Regions from separate parts of the Homo sapiens genome. Here region 1 is linked to region 2. Evidence: promoter capture Hi-C in 16 types of primary human blood cells and fetal thymus (Javierre and others, 2016). All regions are on one chromosome and are shown on one strand. Each heading gives the region's core, a stretch centred on a gene start or on the middle of the fragment in contact. The rest is flanking DNA. Distances are from core to core; before and after follow the strand shown. Region 1 overlaps RDH10 (retinol dehydrogenase 10). Region 2 holds the start of LY96 (lymphocyte antigen 96).

The links. Contacts are between HindIII fragments. The CHiCAGO score rates a contact against its expected background, and 5 or more counts as called.
Region 1: a contact is called between a fragment that was not itself captured here and the fragment with the promoter of LY96 in region 2, in 1 of 17 cell types (M0 macrophages). The highest score is 7.5, in M0 macrophages.

What each region holds. Positions count from the first base shown.
Region 1 is chr8:73,320,119-73,323,646 of GRCh38, forward strand. RDH10 (retinol dehydrogenase 10) reads left to right here. Exons shown (of 6, transcript NM_172037.5): 4 at 814-959; 5 at 2,561-2,692; 6 at 2,795-3,528. The coding sequence ends at 2,918. RDH10-AS1 (RDH10 antisense RNA 1) reads right to left here. Exons shown (of 6, transcript NR_125388.1): 4 at 1,622-1,969. Among named protein-coding and RNA genes, the nearest start is that of RDH10, 27 kb to the left of the region's middle. The HindIII fragment of the contact is 1,414 bases long and covers 747-2,160 here.
Region 2 is chr8:73,989,791-73,993,402 of GRCh38, forward strand. It overlaps LY96 (lymphocyte antigen 96), which reads left to right and starts at 1,602. Exons shown (of 5, transcript NM_015364.5): 1 at 1,602-1,764. The coding sequence starts at 1,653. RefSeq lists enhancers at 1,844-1,943, 2,314-2,383. The HindIII fragment of the contact is 3,298 bases long and covers 1-1,632 here.

The DNA.
Region 1 (3,528 bases), core at 204-2,703, 670 kb before region 2:
ACTTCGCCTTACAAAGAAAGTCAAATCATAACAATTTATAGCCTAAGCTAGATTTGCCTTTATTCTTCTTGCATTAATTTAAACAAACTGGTTTTTCTTTCTCCTTTACTGAACAAGAGACCATTTGTAAATTTTCCAGACACTTCAAAGTGAACCTCTCTCCATTTTAACTTCAGCTTGTGAGCTTTCATAGAATCCTTTATGGTAACTTCCCCAAAGTAATATGATACTTAGTTGATGTGACAAAAAGTATTCATCTGTTTCTGCTGTTGCTTTGAAAATATTATTTCTGCACTGAACCACATCAGGTATCTGGTTTGTGTTTTTTTTTTGTTTTTGTTTTTGTTTTTGTTTTTGTTTTTTTTTTTTTGAGACAGAGTCTCACTCTGTCACCCAGGCTGGAGTGCAGTGGTGTGATCTTGGCTCACTGCAACCTCCACCTCCCAGGTTCAAGCAATTCTCCTGCCTCAGCCTCCTGAGTAGCTGGGACTACAGGCACAGGCCCACCATGCCCAGCTAATTTTTGTATTTTTAGTAGAGGCGGGGTTTCACCATTTTGGCCAGGCTGGTCTCGAGCTCCTGACCTTAAGTGATCCAGCCACCTCGGCCTCCCAAAGTGCTAGGATTACAGGCATGAGCCACTATGCCCAGCCAGGTATCTGTCTTTTAAAATGATTTCCTTTTCTTTGTGTAGTCACCTGTAACCTTATGTATTAGACATCTAAACATGGTAATAGGACCAGGGAAGCTTTAGTTTGGTTGGAGATAGGGGCATATGCTTAGTATTTCTGCTTTCTCCCCTCTTTAACTCAGGATTACTGTGCCAGTAAATTTGGAGTTGTGGGTTTTCATGAATCCCTGAGCCATGAACTAAAGGCTGCTGAAAAGGATGGAATTAAAACAACCTTGGTTTGCCCTTATCTTGTAGACACTGGCATGTTCAGAGGCTGCCGAATCAGGTCAGTGAGAACCTATATTATTACTGATAAAAAGAATATGTTGGGAGAATATGTGGAACTGGACTTTCAAACATAACCTTGTATTTTAACTATCATTTGACAATCTGTGGCTTTTATTGGTCAAGATTTGTAAAGTTTGTAAAATTGGTGTATAAGATTTGCAAAGGAGAGACTGGTGCTACACACTGATACTAATTTGCAGAAATTAATCCAGAATCATTAGATAGGAAATGGCTTCTCTGTAAAGAGAAAACATAAGTATCCAGTCTTTTCCTTAGAAGCTCATCTTTTGGAGTTATTTTGTTTCTTTAAAATTGGTATTGGTAAATAAGGATTCTAGAAGAAAATTCCTTCATGTGACTTGGGTCTGGATATGAAGCAATGTTACTGTCACAGAGAGTAACGTGCCTTTCTTCTGAAAAGACCATTGAATATTACACTCCAGATTTGGAAACTTCCTTTTTGCAGCAAGCGTATGTAACTAGATTCACTCTGGCAGAATGAGAAGAACCATTTAGATATACTGAAAAATGAAATAAAATACCCACACACATAGAAAGGAGGTATATGGGAATATAAATGTCAAGTTACATCTGACTTGAGCTCAGCAGAATAAACAAAACTGTGAATCATTAAGAGGATGCTTGTGAAGACATGCTTACTTTTATCTTTGCTTGGGTGAGTTTGAAAGGCAAAGGAAGATAACCAAACCAGTTCCCTGTTGGTTGGGGGCCATTCTTAACGTGTACTGAACTGAACAAGCAGCAAAATAGGTGGAAGGTGATTTGAATCACTCCAAAGTCAGGCTTGGAGTCCCAAGTCTGACCTGGAAAATGGACTCTAGCTCTGCCTCTTATCCCACACATGTGTGTGTCTGTGTGAACATGTGTGTGTGTTGGTGGTTTGTTTTGTTTTGTTTTCCTCTTATGTACTTGGGAAGCAGTTGCTGAGGGTCTTGCGGAGCTCTGTTTCCTCCAGTGTAGCATAGCAGCAGGTGCAGGGGTCCAAAGCTATGGTGGCAAAATGAAGAATGAAAGGAATAAATTGCACACTATCATTTCAACATGTAACCCAGTGAATCAAACTGAAGGTAGGATGTCTATATACCCTTCATTTCAGGGGCCCCTAGAGAATATACCTTAGCTTTCCCTCTTCCGGCATCCTGGAAAGTGGATACCTGTGGCCTTCCTTTCACTTTGAAAGCTTACACCCTCATTTTGACTACAACTAATACTAAAAGCTTGGCATCTTGCTTGAGATTAGTGTTTGCTATGCCAAACACCTTCTCCTCTTTCTATTGAAAGCAAAACATAGGAAAATAATTTGAAATACTTTTAAGGCATCTTAAAAACATGACTTTTTCATCTTATGGAAAAGCAGACCAATTTTGCTTTTTTTTCCCAACTTGTTCTCCAGACTGTGCCAATAAAATGTGTTCATAGCAGGAAAATTTGGAAAATACAGAAAAGCACTATGAAGAAAACAAAATGTACCCAAAATCCCATCACTCAGATAACATCACTGTTAATGTTTTGATATGTATTTCCAGTCTTTTCTATTGTGTTAATTTTTCATTTTGTTTTTGAATAAATAACTTTCAGGAAAGAAATTGAGCCTTTTCTGCCACCTCTGAAGCCTGATTACTGTGTGAAGCAGGCCATGAAGGCCATCCTCACTGACCAGCCCATGATCTGCACTCCCCGCCTCATGTACATCGTGACCTTCATGAAGAGGTAACTGGGAGGGGTTCCCTCACTGACTGGGTCTCTCCATGCCTGCCCGATGTCTTAATTGAAACTTCAAGTTTGCTAACAGCTGTGACTTCCCTTTTTCAGCATCCTACCATTTGAAGCAGTTGTGTGCATGTATCGGTTCCTAGGAGCGGACAAGTGTATGTACCCCTTTATTGCTCAAAGAAAGCAAGCCACAAACAATAATGAAGCAAAAAATGGAATCTAAGAATCTTTTTGTATGGAATATTACTTCTATCAGAAGATGATCAAGATGTTTCAGTCCAGTGCACATCAGCATTGCTGACATTTTATGGATTCTAAACTTGTGTTGTTTCTTTTTTAAATCAACTTTTTAAAAAAATAAAGTGTAAATTAACCGACTAGAGTACTTGGAAAATGTGATCAGTACAAGTGAACTTAGGTTGTTGCCAACAGGGTCCTTTTAGGCAGAACCCAGAAACCAGTCAAATCTGTAGAGAAGCAGTGTGACATCTTCAGGTTACCATTATTTTTTAATGAGCAGGAAGTCTAGAAATGATAACTAGACTGTATGTTTCATGTGTGTGATTTTTCAGAATTCCCAGAGTTTACTCATTCTTGTTATTAAACTCTAGCCAGTTGACATCTTCGCAATTTCAAGGACTGATAGTGCTGTATTTTCTCACGTTTTCTAAGTTTCCGTTTTGCAAGGCCTAGGTGACTTTTTCATGGTGTTTGTATGTTTAGCTCTTTTGAAAAGGAATTTTGAAATCTCCATCAACTGAAGTAAATGATGTCTGAGTGTTACAGTAAAGGTGACCAAGTCTCTTTCTTAAAGTCACAATGACTAAAGTATT
Region 2 (3,612 bases), core at 352-2,851:
GTCTCCCAGGCTGGAGTGCAGTGACATAATCTTGGCTCACTGCAAACTCCACCTCCTCGGTTCAAGCAATTCTCTTGCCTCAGCCTCCTGAGTAGCTGGGACTACAGGCACTTGCCACCATGCCTAGCTAATTTTTGTATTTTTAGTAGAGACAGGGTTTCACTATGTCGGTCAAGCTGGTTTCAAACTCCTGACCTCAGGTGATCCGCCCACCTTGACCTCCCAAAGTGCTGGGATTTACAGAGGTGAGCCACTGCGCCTGGCCTGTTTGTTTGTTTTTGAGACCGAGTCTCACTCTGTTGCCCAGGCTGGAGTGTAGTGGCCCAATCTTGGCTCACTGCAACCTCTGCCTCCTGGGTTCAAGCGATTCTCCTGCCTCAGCCTCCCGAGTAGCTGGGATTACAGGTGTGTGCCACCATGCCTGGCTAATTTTTATATTTTTAGTAGAGACGGAATTTCACCATGTTGGCCAGGCTGGTCTTGAACTCCTGACCTCAAGTGATCCACCCACCTTGGTATCCCAAAATGCTGGGATGACAGGCATGAGCCACCGTGCCCAGCTGAGAATTTGTTTTATAAAGCAGGAGGCCCCATCCTCTGGGGGCCGTGGACCAGTACCAGTCCATGGCCTGTTAGGAATCTGGTTGTGGCTTGTTAGGAAGTGGGCTGCACAGCTGGAGGTTAACAGCAGGTGAGCGAGCATTACCACCTGAGCTCCAGCTCCTGTCAGACCAGCAGCAGCATTAGATTCCCATGGGAGCAGGAACCTTGTTATGAAGTATACAAGCGAGGGATCTAGGTTGCGTGCTCCCTATAAGAATCTAATGCCTGATGTTCTGAGGTGGAACAGTTTCACCCTGAAACCATCCCTCCCCATCCCCTCAGTCCGTGGAAAAATTGTCTTCCATGAAACTGATCCCTGAGGCCAAAAATGTTGGGGACTGCTGTTATACAGAGCTGTAGGAGAGAAGAATAATGCAGAGGGAAAAGGAGTGCCTGTCTGTTGAGACTTTCAGGGGGACCTAGGGACTGGTTTTGTTACAGTTGACTGGGAATTGTCTTGTTTATTTTATTTTATTTTTCATTTAAAAAATTTTTTTGAAATGGAGTCTTGCTCTGTTGCCCAGGCTGGAGAGCAGTGGTGCCATCTTGGCTCACTGCAACCTCTGCCTCCCAGATAAAGTGAAGCTCCTGCCTCAGCCTCCTGAATAGCTGGGATTACAGGCATGCACTACCACACCTGGCTAATTTTTGTATTTTTAGTAGAGATGTGTTTCATCATGTCAGCCAGGCTGGTCTTGAACTCCTGACCTCAAGTGATCCACCTGCCTCAGCCTCCCAAAATACTGAGATTACAGGCATGAGCCACCGTGCCTGGCCAAAGTGTCTTGTTTTATTTTTAAGTCTTTGATCACTCTCATTTACAGTAAGTGTTTGAAGAGTACATTCTAAATCATTTTTCTCTCTTCCTTTACAGGAAGTGCTCAAATGTTGAGCACACACACACAAAAAAAGAGGAAACAGTTGGATAGGAACTCAGAAATCATGTGACTGATGACTAAGTTAAATCTTTTCTGCTTACTGAAAAGGAAGAGTCTGATGATTAGTTACTGATCCTCTTTGCATTTGTAAAGCTTTGGAGATATTGAATCATGTTACCATTTCTGTTTTTTTCCACCCTGTTTTCTTCCATATTTACTGAAGCTCAGAAGCAGTATTGGGTCTGCAACTCATCCGATGCAAGTATTTCATACACCTACTGTGGTAAGTAAAACCGCAAAACAAATAATTGTAGCATCAACTATTTTGAGGGTAAGTTTTCACGAGAACCGTACACTGTTGTGGCTGGAACACACGAAACATCAGTGTGTTCCAGCTGCTGTGGCGGACGCTGCCAGCAGGAAAAGCAATAGCTGGCAGCTGCCCCATGAGAATGTTCTCGACCACTCACAGAGCTTGTGAGTCTCTAAACTGTGTTGTGCTTGACCTCCAAGTGCTTCTGTTCCCTGCGTCATCTTTCTCTACCCTGAGCCCAGTTTTTGGTTCTGCCCATTTTTAATAAAACCATCTGCTTCTGAGCTTTCACCTCAGCCTTGACACTTACTAGTTCTTCTTCTTGAGATGGTAGAGCAGTCCCAGCTGCTTCCTGGAGTTGATTTCTGCTCTAAGCTGTGACTCTTGAGTGCTCTTGGAATCATCCCCCTCACTGGATGAAAGCCTGGTTCTGTCACTAGCTGTGTGACCTTAAGCAAAGTACTCCAGCCTTTTTAGCACTGAAGTGAAAGTGATTTTATAGTCTACTTGATAAGGGTGTTGTGAGGTGAAGTTTTTTAGCATAGGGTCACATAGAGACAATAATACTCTTAATTTTTTTTTGGAGTCAGCCATACCCTAATACTATTCACTGGCTGTGTCACTGTCCCCTGCCCCAGCTGCTCATTAGCAAGTGTCCTGGGATCTGAAGGCACAGTGTCAGGCCTGACAGCTGTTTTGGTTCGGTACTTTCCACCGTGCTGCTTACCATGGGTTGGCTGCCCTTTTCCACCCACTAGCAATAGCTGGGAGGTTTAAAGTGGTGCTTCCCAAAATACCAGTTCTTTGAGATTCTTTTGGGAAAATAGGATCTATGACCTAATCATCTGGGAGAGATTTACAGATGTACTTTGGGTTCTGAGAAGTTCTGCAATAAAGGCACCTGTTTAACCACATTTTCAATTTCATTTGTTGTTTGTTTGTTTGTGTTTTAGTCTGGAGTGTATGTTAACTCTCTTGAGAAACATGCTCTGCCAAATGCTAATATAAAGTGACTTTCGGGAAATTGGGATAATTGCCACATGTGAGGAGGAGACTTAGGAGTGTGGCCAGTCACACACCATGGCCCTTCTCCTGGTGGGTTGCACTGAATTCCCTCCAAACGTATGTCTAAAATCTCTCCATGCTGCAAGATCCTTTTGCATTCCCCTCTTCCAGCAAGGCTCCTACTCTACTTGGCCCCCACTTCCCTCTCCTCCTTTGGCTCTTTTGTACCATGTGCTAATTATGCCACTGTGTGTGTGTGTGTGTGTGTGTGTGTGTGTGTGTGTGTGACAGAGTTTTGCTCTGTTGCCAGGCTGGAGTGCAGTGGCGCGATTTCGGCTCACTGCAACCTCTGCCTCCCAAGTTCAAACGATTCCCATGCCTCAGCCTCCTGAGTAGCTGGGACTACAGGTGTGCGCCACCACACCCGGCTAATTTTTTTTTTTTTTGTATTTTAGTAGAGACAGGGTTTCATCATGTTGACCAGGATGGTCTCAATGTCCTGATCTTGTGATCTGCCCACCCCGGCCTCCCAAAGTGCTGGGATTACAGGCGTGTGCCACCTTGCCCGGTTTATGCCACTCTTTATATGGTTTTTATGGATGTAACATTTTGTATTATTATTTAGCTTTCAATCTTTTCTTAACAATAACTCAATTTGTCTTTTTAAAACATTTCACATTTTATCTTATTTTATCATTTATTTTTGAGACAGGGTTTTGCTCTGTTGTGCAGGCTGGAGTGAGTGGCATGATCTCCACTCACTGCAACCTCCACCTCCCTGGCTCAAGCCATCCTCCCAGCTCAGCCTTCCAA